Regions from separate parts of the Homo sapiens genome. Here region 2 is linked to region 1. Evidence: promoter capture Hi-C in 16 types of primary human blood cells and fetal thymus (Javierre and others, 2016). All regions are on one chromosome and are shown on one strand. The core of a region is centred on a gene start or on the middle of the fragment in contact, and the rest is flanking DNA. Distances in the headings are between cores, read along the strand shown.

Region 1 (6,310 bases), core at 2,077-4,576:
TGGAGTGCAGTGGGCTGATCTTGGCTCACTGCAACCTCTGCCTCCTGGGTTCAAGCAATTCTCCTACCTCAGCCTCCAGAGTAGCTGGGATTACAGGCATGCGCCACCACATCTGGCTAATTATTATTTTTTTTTTTTTGAGACCGAGTCTTGCTCTGTCGCCCAGGCTGGAGTGCAGTGGCCGGATCTTGGTTCACTGAAACCTCCGCCTCCTGGGTTCAAGTGATTCTCCTATCTCAGCTTCCTGAGTAGCTGGGATTACAGGTGGCCGCCACCAAACCTGACTAATTTATTTATTTATTTATTTATTTATTTATTTATTTATTTATTTATTTATTTTTAGTAGAGACGGGGTTTCACCATGCTGGCCAGGCTGGTCTCGAACTCCCGACCTCAGGCCCTCAGGCGATCTGCCCGCCTTGGCCTCCCAAAGTGCTGGGATTACAGGTGTGAGCCACTGTGCCCGGTCCCTAATTTTTTTTTTTTTTTGAGATGGAGTTTCGCTCTTGTCATCTAGGCTAGAGTGCGATGGTACGATCTCGGCTCACTGCCACCTCCACCCACTGGGTTCAAGTGATTCTCCTGCCTCAGCCTCCTGAGTAGCTGGGATTACAGGCACCTGCCACCACGCCTGGCTAATTTTTGTATTTTTAGTAGAGACGGGGTTTCACCATGTTGGCCAGGCTGGTCTTGAACTCCTGACCTTAGGTGATCCGCCCACCTCGGCCTCCCAAAGTGCTGGGATTACAGGTGTGAACCACTGCACTCGGCTAATTTTTGTATTTTTTAGTAGAGACGGTGTTTCACCATGTTGGCCAGGCTGGTCTCAAACCCCTGACCTCAAGTGATCCACCCACCTCAGCCTCCCAAAGTGCTGGGATTACAGGTGTGAGCCACCATGCCTGGCCTTATGAGTGTGTTCTTGGTTAAACAAAGATTCAAACAAGAAGTTAAAAGATAAAATCTCAGCCAGGTGCAGTGGCTCATGCCTATAATCTCAGCACTTTGGGAGGCCAATGTGGGAGGACTGCTTGAGCCCAGGAGTTTGAGAACAGCCTGGGTAACATTCAAGAACTCTACAAAAACATAAAAAATAACCAGGTGTGGTGGTGCTTGCCTGTAGTTCTAGCTACTCCAGAGGCTGAGGTGGGAGGATCACTGGAACCCAGGAGTTCGAGGTTACAGTGAGCTATGATCATGCCACTGCCCTCCAGCCTGGGTGACAGAGTGAGACCCTGTCTTAAAAAAAAAAAAAATCTCCTTTTGCCTTCTCACTTCAAACCTGCTGTTTTTCCCTAGTGCTGACCATCATCAGTGGTCACAACAGTATGGTCTGTATCCTTGCAGACATTTTTCTATGTAGGATGAGCAGAAAGGAAAATGGATTTAAGTTAATGTCCAACTCATCCACTGTATTGAACTTCACTGAATCTGCTCTACACCCTCAAAGGGACAAATCTGAAGAACAAATTAGAGGTGTCCATGGTATAACTCCTCCTAAGCATCATTTGCTTCTCAGATTGATCTCAACTAGGAAAAGTTTTTGTTAATCGATTTTAGCTAAATATATATGTGTGTGTGTGTGTGTGTGTGTGTGTGTGTGTGTGTGTGTGTATATATATATTTTTTTTTTTCTTGAGACAGGGTCTTGCTGTGTCGCCCAGGCTGGAGTGCAGTGGCGCCATCTCGGCTCACTGCAACCTCTGCCTCCTGGGTTCAAGCAATTCTCCTGCCTCAGCCTCCCGGGTAGCTGGGATTATAGGCATGTGCCACCATGCCTGGCTAATTTTTGGTATTTTTAATAGAGACTGGGTTTCACCACATTGGCCAGGCTGGTCTTGAACTCCTGACTTCAGGTGATCCGCCTGTCTCAGCCTCCTCCCAAAGTGCTAGGATTATAGACATGAGCCCAGCCTCTAATTAGATATTTTTATGAAATGTAGGTTTTAACAGGATAAATGTGATACATGTATTGTTCTATAACTTGCTTTACAACATGACCTAGGGACCTTTCTCTATTAGTTCATAGAAATCTTTATTCTCTGAATTGCTGAATGATATAGATGTACCATAGATAACCATTCCTCTGTCAGACATTTAAATTATTGCTGCTTTTGTATAATTACCAACAGTGCTATGTGAACATCCTAGCATGTGCAGTGTGTCTCTGAATGTCTATGCTGAATGAATATTTCAAGTATCCAAAAGCAGAAATGCTATACTAATATTGATAGGTTTAAACTGCCTTTTAAATAGCTGTATCCATTTATATTCTTACCTACAGGATATGAGAGTAACAGTGTCTCCCTACTTTGCCAAAAGAAGGTATTATAAATCTTTAAAATTTTGCATTTTGATAGTTAAAAAATAATATTTCACTTAAATATGTATTCTCTGACTACCGAGGTTGAGGAAGTTTCGAGTTTATTAATAATTTATGAGTTACACATATGTAATTCAGATAACACATAATATAGAAACATGAATATATTGTGCATGTATGTGTGCCTATACAAATATATATATATATAAATAATATATATATAAAAATATATATGTAAATATATATATATATATATATATATATATATATATATATATATATATATATATTTGTCCCTGGTGAAATGTTTGTATTTAATCTGAGAAGTAGCTATTGTTGGCAAAAAAGCCCAGGGAAGAAGTATTTATCTGTTATGCTCAACCTGCCAGATCACTAGCTCTGAAGGGACCTTTAATGACCTAAAATACAATGTAATTGTTAATAACAGAACATGGGAGACAGAATCAGGATCTATCTATGAAATCGGACATGACCCATTTATTAAGGCAGATGACCAAGAAGTTATTATCTAGTAAGAAAGACTTTTTTGGTTCTAGAAACATGGTTTATTGCACAAAAAACAATGACATTTTATTAGGTTCCCCCAGTGGCAAAAGTTGCATACAAACAGCACACAAATACCTCCTGTCATTTTAAATTTGACATCTCTGAATTATGGAGGAATCATTCACTCAGCTTAATTTGGGGCTCATGACTTTAGTCTTCTAGATTGCAGTGTGTTATCAGGACTATTATAAGCATTCTTTATCTGTGCTGTCCAAAAAAGCAGCCATTAGGTAGATGCAGCTCTTTACATTTTTATTAAAATTATTTAAAATTAAAAATTCAATTGCTCTGACACACAAACCATAATGCAAGTGTTCAATAGCTACATTTGGCTACTGGCTGCCTTATTGGCTAGCACAGATAGAATATTTCCATTGTTGCAGAAAGTTCTATTGGATGGTGCTGTTTTAAAAGCAAGGATAAGCAGAAAGGGACATGGATTTTAGTTGATGGATGACTCACTCACTACATTCAACTGAACTGAATCTGCTCTATACCAGCAAAGGGACAAATTCAGAAAATAAATTGAAGATGGCCATGCTGTAACTTCTAAACATGGTTTGCTTCTCAGATTTACCTAAACTAAGAAAGGTTTGTGTTAATCTCTCTGTTTTAGCTTATTAAGAAAGAGTTGTTTGAAATGTTTTTATCTTTTTCTTTTGAATTCTATGGTACTGTATATATGTATACCAGTTTTTATGTCATTTGCTATGAAAGCTTTAATTTGTAGCTAAATACTACTGCTCCTTCTTTCAGGAAATACTATGTGTTGTCCTTTATGAAAAAAATATTTTCTTTCTTTTTATGATTATAAAAGTAAAATGCTTATAGTAAAAAATTAAAATACATGTAATTACAATATATTAAGTATATAATTTGTAATCCCAACATCCAGAGCTAATCACCGTTAATATTTTCATGAATATCCTTCTAGACTTTTTTGTATACATCTGTAAATGTAACTAAACTTATAATAATGGGGCCATATTATTCTATTTTATAACATCAATTTCACTGAAATGAAATATCAAATGCCATTTTATGTATGTTTATCATTTCTACTGGTTGCATAGTATCACACCGTGGATGTAGTCGATTATTTAACCAGTTTTTCTTGTATTATTATTTTATGTTTTTAGCTTATGACTATTATAAACAACATGAATTACATCTTTGCTTACATTATTATTATTTATGAACCATAAATGAGACTTAACTTGCTTACTTTTTTTTTATTTTTTGAGACAGAGTCTCACTCTATTGCCCAGGCTGGAATGCAGTGGCCAGATCTCGGCTCACTGCAACCTTCACCTCCCAGGTTCAAGCGATTCTCCTGCCTCAGTCTCCTGAGTAGCTGGGATTACAGGCATGTGCCACCATGCCCGGCTAATTTTTGTATTTTTAGTAGAGATGGGGTTCAACCATGTTGCTCAGGCTGGTCTCGAACTCCTGACCTCGTAATCCGCCCGCCTGTGCCTCCCAAAGTGCTGGGATTACAGGCGTGAGCCACCGCGCCTGGCCAACTTGCTTACATTTTAAAGTGCTTTGGGTTGTTGGGTCAGAGTATGCTATTATTATTATTATTATTATTATTATTATTATTATTATTTATTTTTTTTTGAGACAGAGTCTTGCTCTGTCGCCCAGGCTGGAGTGCAATGGTGTGATCTCGGCTCACTGCAACCTCTGCCTCTGGGTTCAAGTGATTCTTCTGCCTCAGCCTCCCGAGTAGCTGGGACTACAGGCGCCCGCCACCACGCCCGACTAATTTTTGTATTTTTAGTAGAGCAAGGGTTTCAACCATGTTGGCCAGGCTGGTCTCAAACTCCTGACCTCAAGTGATCCGCTGGCCTCGGCCTCCTAAAGTATTGGGATTACAGGCGTGAGCCACCGTGCCCGGCCAGAGTATGCTATTATTAACATAATAAAGTCAATGGAAAGTTTCTCTATTTCAGGAATACAACTATATTTTAGAAGGTTGATGCTTTTGCAAATCGTATTAACAGAGCCGGGCGCGGTGGCTCACGCTTGTAATCCCAGCACTTTGGGAGGCCGAGGCGGGAGGATCACGAGGTCAGGAGATCGAGATCACGGTGAAACCCCGTCTCTACTAAAAATAACAAAAAAATTAGCCGGGCGTGGTGGCAGGCGCCTGTAGTCCCAGCTACCCGGAGAGGCTGAGGCAGGAGAATGGCGTGAACCCGGGAGGCGGAGCTTGCAGTGAGCCGAGATCGCGCCACTGCACCCCAGCCTGGGCGACAGGGCGAGACTCCGTCTCAGAAAACAAACGAACAAAAAAAACAGAACAAAGGCTGAAGAAAGGAACTAAAGACTCTAGAACTAGTTATTTAAAAAGCCAAAGCTATCACTATTTTACATTCCTAAATTTAAATGATTAAACTTAAGAGAAAACAGATAATCTCTTAATGTTTCTTTCCGGCAAATTTGAAGTTTGCTTACAGAGGAAAAATAATAGTTTAGTAAAAAATTTAAGGAGCTGACTCTAAAGCCACAATGATTGGGTTTGAATGCCAGCTCCAGCTGTGTGACCTCAGGTAAATTAAGGTGTGCTTCCGTTTCCTCATCTGTAAGATGGGGGAAACAACATACTTACCGCATAGGATTTTAGTGATGAACACATCTTGTATCTTAGTAGTTTGTTTGATTGTGTAACAGTTCCCTTTATATAAAGGGGACAGGACATACATTTATATTTTAAATGAAAAATAATGAAAATATTCACTTTTAAAATCTTTCCTTTGGGGTATATTTCCTCTGAGATAACCTGGGATACCAACCTTAATATGCAATCTGCCGGCAAATAATCCAAGCAGCTAAATTATAACTTGCCCCACTGCTTCCTTCAAGAGAGCAGCTATATGTCTTAAATAGGTCAAATACTGCTACAGTGAAAGTTTCCATAATACTGCCACCATACCAGTGAACAATCTATTGCAAGTAATATCTATAATGAGATTCTGGTACCATAAGGCCGGGCGCAGTGGCTCACGCCTGTAATCCCAGCACTTTGGGAGGCCGAGGCAGGTGGATCACCTGAGGTTGGGAGTTCGAAACTAGCCTGACCAATATGGAGGAACCCCATCTCTACTAAAAATACAAAATTAGCTGGGCATGGTGGCGCATGTCTGTAATACCAGCTACTCTGGAGCCTGGGGCAGGAGAATCACTTGAACCTGGGAGGTGGAGGTTGCGGTGAGCCGAGATTGTGCCATTGCACTCCAGCCTGGGCAACAAGAGGGAAACTTCGTCTCAAAAAAAAAAAAAAAAAAAAGATTCTGGTACCATAAAATAGTTGAGAATTTTTGGAGTTCTTTTTGTTTTCTGAGACAGAGTTTCTGCTCTTGTCGCCAAGGCTGGAGTGCAATGGCGCGATCTTGGCTCACCGCAACCTCTGCCTCC
Region 2 (6,310 bases), core at 1,698-4,197, 140 kb before region 1:
CTTATAGGGGCTCTTTTCAAACTAATGTCTTATCCTTCATAGTGCCTCAAAGTAGATCCTGCTCAGACATGTTATAACAAGTTAGTACAAATTTATTTTGGTGCAAAAATTTTTTGAAATCTATGCATAGTTTTTTCATAATACACATTTTTCATAAACTTTGTGAAGACCTCTTGTATGTCCAGCTGAATACTGCAGGATTATATAACTGGTAACTCATGGCCCTTGCCCACAAAGTGCTAGTGGCGAGTTATCACTACCTTTTCCAGTCCCCTGCCCCTTTTCTTGTTTGTTGATGGTGTCATCTTCCCAGCCACTTAGGCAGCAAACTCTGGAGTTGTATTCTGCCTTTTCCTTTTCTTTCATTTAGTATTTAATTACAGCACAAGTTCTGTCAAATATTCCTTCAACAAATTTCCAATTTATCTCTTCCTTCTTGTCTCCCAACTCCTCACTCCAATCTGTTCTGCATGACTGGTCATCCTAAAATACAGATTTCATCATATCATTCCTCAGAAATACCATGCAGGGTTAAGCATGATGGCTCATGCCTGTAATCCCAGCACTTTAGGAGACTGAAGTGGATTGCTTGAGCCCAGGAGTTCGAGACCAGCCTGAGCAACATAGTGAGATCTTGTCAATACAACAACAACAAAAAAAATTAAAAAAAAATTAGCTGGGCATGGTGGTGTGTTGCTTGTAGTCCCAGCTACTCAGGAGGCTGAGGCAGGAGGATCACTTGAGCCCAAAAGGTTGAGGCTGCAGTGAGCCATGATTGAGCTACTGAACTCCAGGCTGCAGTAAGCCATGATTGAGCTACTGAACTCCAGTCTGGGTGACAGAGCAAGACCCTGTCAAAAAGAGAGAGAGACAGAGAGACAGAGAGAATGGAAGGAAGGAGGGAGGGAGGGAGGGAGGGAAGGAAGGAAGGAAGGAAGGAAGGGAGGGAGGGAGGGAGGGAGGGAGGCTGGGTGTGGTGGCTCACACCTGTAATCCCAACACTTTGGGAAGGCAAGGTGGGTGGATCACCTGAGGTCAGGAGTTTGAAACCAGCCTGGCCAACTTGGTGAAGCCCCGTCTCTACTAAAAATATAAAAATTTGCTGGGCATGGTGGCAGGTGCCTGTAATCCCAAATACTTGGGAGGCTGAGGCAGGAGAATCACTTGAACCTGGGAGGCGGAAATTGCAGCAAGTCAAGATCACGCCATTGCACTCCAGCCTGGGCAATGGAGTGGGACTCTGTCTCAAAACAAACAAAAACAAAACAAAGACAAAAAACCACAAAAACAAACAAAAAAAACTCAACACCTTTTACAATAGCTGCAAAAAATAAAATAAAATATTTAGGAATATACCTAACCAAGGAGGCAAAAGACCTCTACAAGGAAAATTACAAAACACTGCTGAAAGAAATGATAGATGACACAAACAAATGGAAACACATCCCATGTTCATGGATGGGTAGAAATCAATATTGTGAAAATGACCATACTGCCAAAAGCAATCTACAAATTCAACGCAATCCCCATCAAAATACCACCACCATTCTTCACAGAATTAGAAAAAACAATTCTAAAAAAAAAAATTATAAAATTTATATGGAACCAAAAAAGAGCTTGCATAGCCAAAGCAAGGCTAAGCAAAAAGAACAAATCTGGAGGCATCACATTACCTGATTTTAAACTATACTATAAGGCCATAGTCACAAAACAGCATAGTACTGATATAAAAATAGGCACATAGGCCGGGTGCAGTGGCTCACACCTGTAATCCTAGCACTTTGGGAGGCTGAGACAGGCGGATCACCTGAGGTCAGGAGTTTGAGACCAGCCTGGCCAACATGGCCAAACCCCATCTCTACTAAAAATAAAAAAATTAGCCCGGCGTGGTGGTGCACACCTGTAATCCCAGCTACTCAAGAGGCTGAGGAAGGAGAATTGCTTGAACCTGGAAGGTGGAGGTTGCAGCGAGCCAAGATCACGCCACTGCACTCCAGCCTGCTCGACAGGAGCGAGACTCCATCTCAAAATAATAATAATAATAATAATAATAATAATAAAATAAATAAATAGGCACATAGACCAATGGAACAGAATAGAGAACCCAGAAATAAACCCAAATATTTACACCCAACTGATCTTTGACAAAGCAAACAAAAACATAAAGTGAGGAAAGGACACCTTTTCAACAAATGGTGCCTGGACAATTGGCTAGCCATGTGTAGGAGAATGAAACTGGATCCTCATCTCTCACCTTAAATAAAAATCAACTCAAGATGGATTAAGGACTTAAATCTAAGACCTGAAACTATAAAAAGTCTAGAAAATAACTTAGACATTGGCTTAGGCAAGAATTTCATGACGAAGAAGCCAAAAGCAAATGCAATAAAAACAAAGACAAATAGTTGGGACTTAATTAAACTAAAGAGATTTTGCATGGCAAAAGTAACAGCCAGCAGAGTAAACAGACAACCCACAGAGTGAGAGAAAATCTTCACAATCTATATCTGACAAAGGATTAATATCCAGAATCTATAACAAAAACAAACTCAAACAAATCAGTAAGAAAAAAAAATCCCATCAAAAAGTGGGCTAAGGACATGAATACACAATTCTCAAAAGAAGATATACAAATGACCAACAAACATATTTAAAAAAGCTCAACATCACTAATGATCAGGGAAATGCAAATCAAAACCACAATGCGATACCATTATACTGCTGCAAGAATGGCCGCAGTAAAAAAATCAAAAAAGGCCGGGCGCGGTGGCTCATGCCTGTAATCCCAGCACTTTGGGAGGCGGAAGCGGGTGGATCACGAGGTCAGGAAATCAAGGCCATCCTGGCTAACACGGTGAAACCCCGTCGCTACTAAAAATACAAAAAATTAGCCGGGCGTGATGGCGGGCGCCTGTAATCACAGCTACAGGGGAGGCTGAGGCAGGAGAATGGTGTCAACCCGGGAGGCGGAGCTTGCAGTGAGCCGAGTCGCGCCACTGCACTCCAGCCTGGGCTACACAGGCAGACTCCGTCTCAAAAAATAAATAAATAAATAAATAAATAAATAAATAAATAAATAAATAAATCAAAAAACAGGCATGGTGGCTCATGCCTGTAATCCCAGCACTTTGGGAGGCCAAGGCAGGCAGATCACCTGAGGCCAGGAGTTTGAGACCAGCCTGGCCAACGTGATGAAAGCCTGTCTCTACTAAAAGTACAAAAATTAGCTATGCGTGGTGGCAGGCGCCTGTAATCCCAGCTACTCGGGAAGCTAAAGCATGAGAATCGCTTAAACCTGGGAGTTGGAGGTTGCAGTGAGCCAAGGTCACGCCACTGCACTCCAGCCTGGGGGATAGTGCAAGACTCTTGTCTCTAAAAAAATAAATAAAATAAAAAAGCAGTAGATGTTGGCATGGATGCAGTGATCAGGGAACAATTCTACACTGCTGGTGGGCATGTAAACTAGTACAGCCACTATGGAAAACTATGTGGAGATTCCTTAAAGAATTAAAAGTAGAACTACCATTTGATCCAGCAGTCTCACTACTGGGTATCTATCCAGAGGAAAAGAAGTCATTATACGAAAAAGATACTTGTACACACATGTTTATAGCAGCACAATTCTCAGTTGCAAAAATGTGGAACCAACCCAAATGCCCATCAATCAACGAGTGGATAAAGAAACTGTGGTCCGGGCGCAGTGGCTCATGCCTGTAATCCCAGCACTTTGGGAGGCCAAGGTGGGCGGATCATGAGTTCAGGAGATGGAGACCACCCTGGCTAACACGGTGAAACCCCGTCTCTACTAAAAATATGAAAAATTAGCCGGGCGTGGTGGCATGTGCCTGTAATCCCAGCTACTCAGGAGGCTGAGGCAGGAGAATCGCTTGAACCCAGGAGGCTTAGAGGTTGCAGTGAGCTGAGATCACACCACTGCACTCCAGCCTGGGCAACAGAGCAAGACTCCCGTCTCAAAGAAAAAAAAAAAAGAATCTGTGGTGTATATATATATACGATGGAATACTACTCAGCCATAAAAAGGAATGAATTAATGGCATTTGCAGTGACCTGGATGAGATTGGAGACTAATATTCTAAGTGAAGTAACTCAGGAATGGAAAATCAAACATCGTATGTTCTCACTGATATGTGCGAGCTAAGCTATGAGGACGCGAAGGCTTAAGGATGATACAGTGGATTTTGGGGACCTGGAGGAAAGGGCGGGAGGGGGGCGAGGGATAAAAGACTACAAATAGGGTACGGTGTATACTGCTTGGGTGATGGGTGCATCAAAATCTCACAAATCACCACTAAAGAACTTACTCATGTAACCAAATACCACCTGTACCCTAATAACTTATGAAAACAGCAACACTTCCATGGCCCTTGGGTTCTTGGGATGAAGAAACAATCAAAATGTTGTAGCCAGTGATCTTCTGTTACAGAAAGATGAATGAAACACAAAGAAGGGAGCCATTCATTCTGCCCTGGCTGTGTGTCAATGCTTCAAGAAAAGGTAAAAATTCTTGGGTTTGGCATTCAAGATCATTCACCCATTTCTAAATCCTCAGATCCCATTGCTTACTGCCCCCACTCAAACTCGTGTTCTCAGCCATCCACAATTGCTTTCACGCTCCAAGCTCGTTGGAGCAGTTTCTTCGCCTGGAATGATCCCACCCACTTGCTGCTACCTTCCCACTGTCTCCCTGGCGAATGCCTAATCCATTCAGATCCAGTTTATCACATCATTTTCTGGTGAAAACTTCCTGAATTCCTCAGGCATTTACAGGCCTTTTTGAGATCCCACCAGCCCTGTAAATGTCTATTATAGATATTGTTAAATGATGATTCCCCAGCCTCCTCCACCAGGCCCTGCATACAGTCTTGCTGTATGCATGATAGGGGTGCAAGGATGTAGGTGTCAGTCTTCCTTGGCTGCAAAGGCTGAGAAACTAAAAATCCCAGAGTACCCCCTGCTAGAACTGAGCCTGCGTGCCACTGGCGGCTGCCTGCATTTTGTTGCTCCCTATGTCACAAGCGAGGTAATGTTGCTGTCCCCTCCCCCCTTCCCTACCTTTACCTTTTCTTTGCCTGGATCTGCATATCCATTGCTTCATGGGTGTTTTTATACTGAAATCAAAGGAGGCCTTCATGTGTAGAGAGGCAAGCCCACGCTATTGCTGTTTTCCGTTTCATGGATCCCGAGGCCCCGACACCCAGTGGAATAGGACTAGCTATTCTTCCCAACATAGCCTTGCTCCCAGGGTAACAAAGCGGGGCTGGAAGTGCTAATGCAAGGCCCTGAGTCCCACCCCTCTGAACAAGCCTCAGCTGCTGCATGCACAGGGTGTCTGCAAGGTTGTAGGCAGAGCCGTCTACAGGTTTCCTGGGTCTGCATTCACGGGATTTCTGTCCTTGACCTGTAAGGTTCCCTCATGTTTACACACCTCTTAGTCATAACCTGAGAAAAGCTCTCACAGTACCCTTCTACAGATAGGCCATCTATAATTTAGCACATTGGGAACTTTATTTAGATCTGTATCCTGGTACCACTGCCACACAGATTTGAATAAGCTGGGTAGCACATTTGGGGAAGATGGTGTTTGGAGAGTCTCCCTACTCCTAACCTGGTAATTCGGCTGTAGGACAGACACAACAGAGCAGAGAAGCAAAGTAATGTGAAAAACAAACGGGTCTTAAGGGCTGGAATATAATGGAAACCAGAGCGATCATCTAAGTGACATCTAAGATTGTGCCATTTGGGGCTGGAGGAAATATCAAGTTGAACAGGTGAAACAATCAGGAATCACTGAGTCAAAATGAATTGGGGAGAGACTGAGCCAGGCTTATGGTGGGAGGGGTAACTTGATTTTGGTAAACATCCCATCCCTAGAACAACTAACTCCTCTCACTTTGATTTATAGAGCTGCCTTTTAACTTTAACTAAGCTTCCCAAGCAGTATGATTACATGAAGAAAATAAACTAGTAAGGCCAAAGGACCAGTCTACCTGACATATATTTTCATCATAAATTAACACACTGGAGTTTGGTTTTTTATTTTTTTATTTTTATTTATTTATTTTTTGAGACGGAGTCTCACTCTGTCGCCCAGGCTGGAGTGCAGTGGTGTGATCTCAGCTCACTGCAACCTCTGCCTCTCCAGGTTTAAGCAATTCTCTGCCTCAGCCTCTGGAGTAGCTGGGATTACAGGCGCGTGCCACCACGCCCCGCTAATTTTTTTGTATTTTTAGTAGAGATGAGGTTTCACCATTTTGGCCAGGCTGGTCTTGAACTCCTGACCTCGTGATCA

What was found. The method cuts DNA at HindIII sites, captures the fragments that hold promoters and counts their contacts. A CHiCAGO score of 5 or more calls a contact.
Region 2: a fragment that was not itself captured here is called in contact with the fragment with the promoter of GJA9 in region 1 in 2 of 17 cell types (total CD8 T cells and naive CD4 T cells); the score reaches 5.8 in total CD8 T cells.

What each region holds. Positions count from the first base shown.
Region 1 is chr1:38,878,603-38,884,912 of GRCh38, reverse strand. GJA9 (gap junction protein alpha 9) reads left to right here and starts at 3,326. Exons shown (of 2, transcript NM_030772.5): 1 at 3,326-3,481. GJA9-MYCBP (GJA9-MYCBP readthrough) reads left to right here and starts at 3,287. Exons shown (of 3, transcript NR_037637.1): 1 at 3,287-3,481. RefSeq lists a silencer at 5,102-5,286. The HindIII fragment of the contact is 5,576 bases long and covers 1-3,609 here.
Region 2 is chr1:39,015,815-39,022,124 of GRCh38, reverse strand. No RefSeq gene overlaps it. Among named protein-coding and RNA genes, the nearest start is that of NDUFS5, 7.4 kb to the left of the region's middle. RefSeq lists enhancers at 1,724-1,893, 4,425-4,594, 4,252-4,960. The HindIII fragment of the contact is 6,004 bases long and covers 1-5,949 here.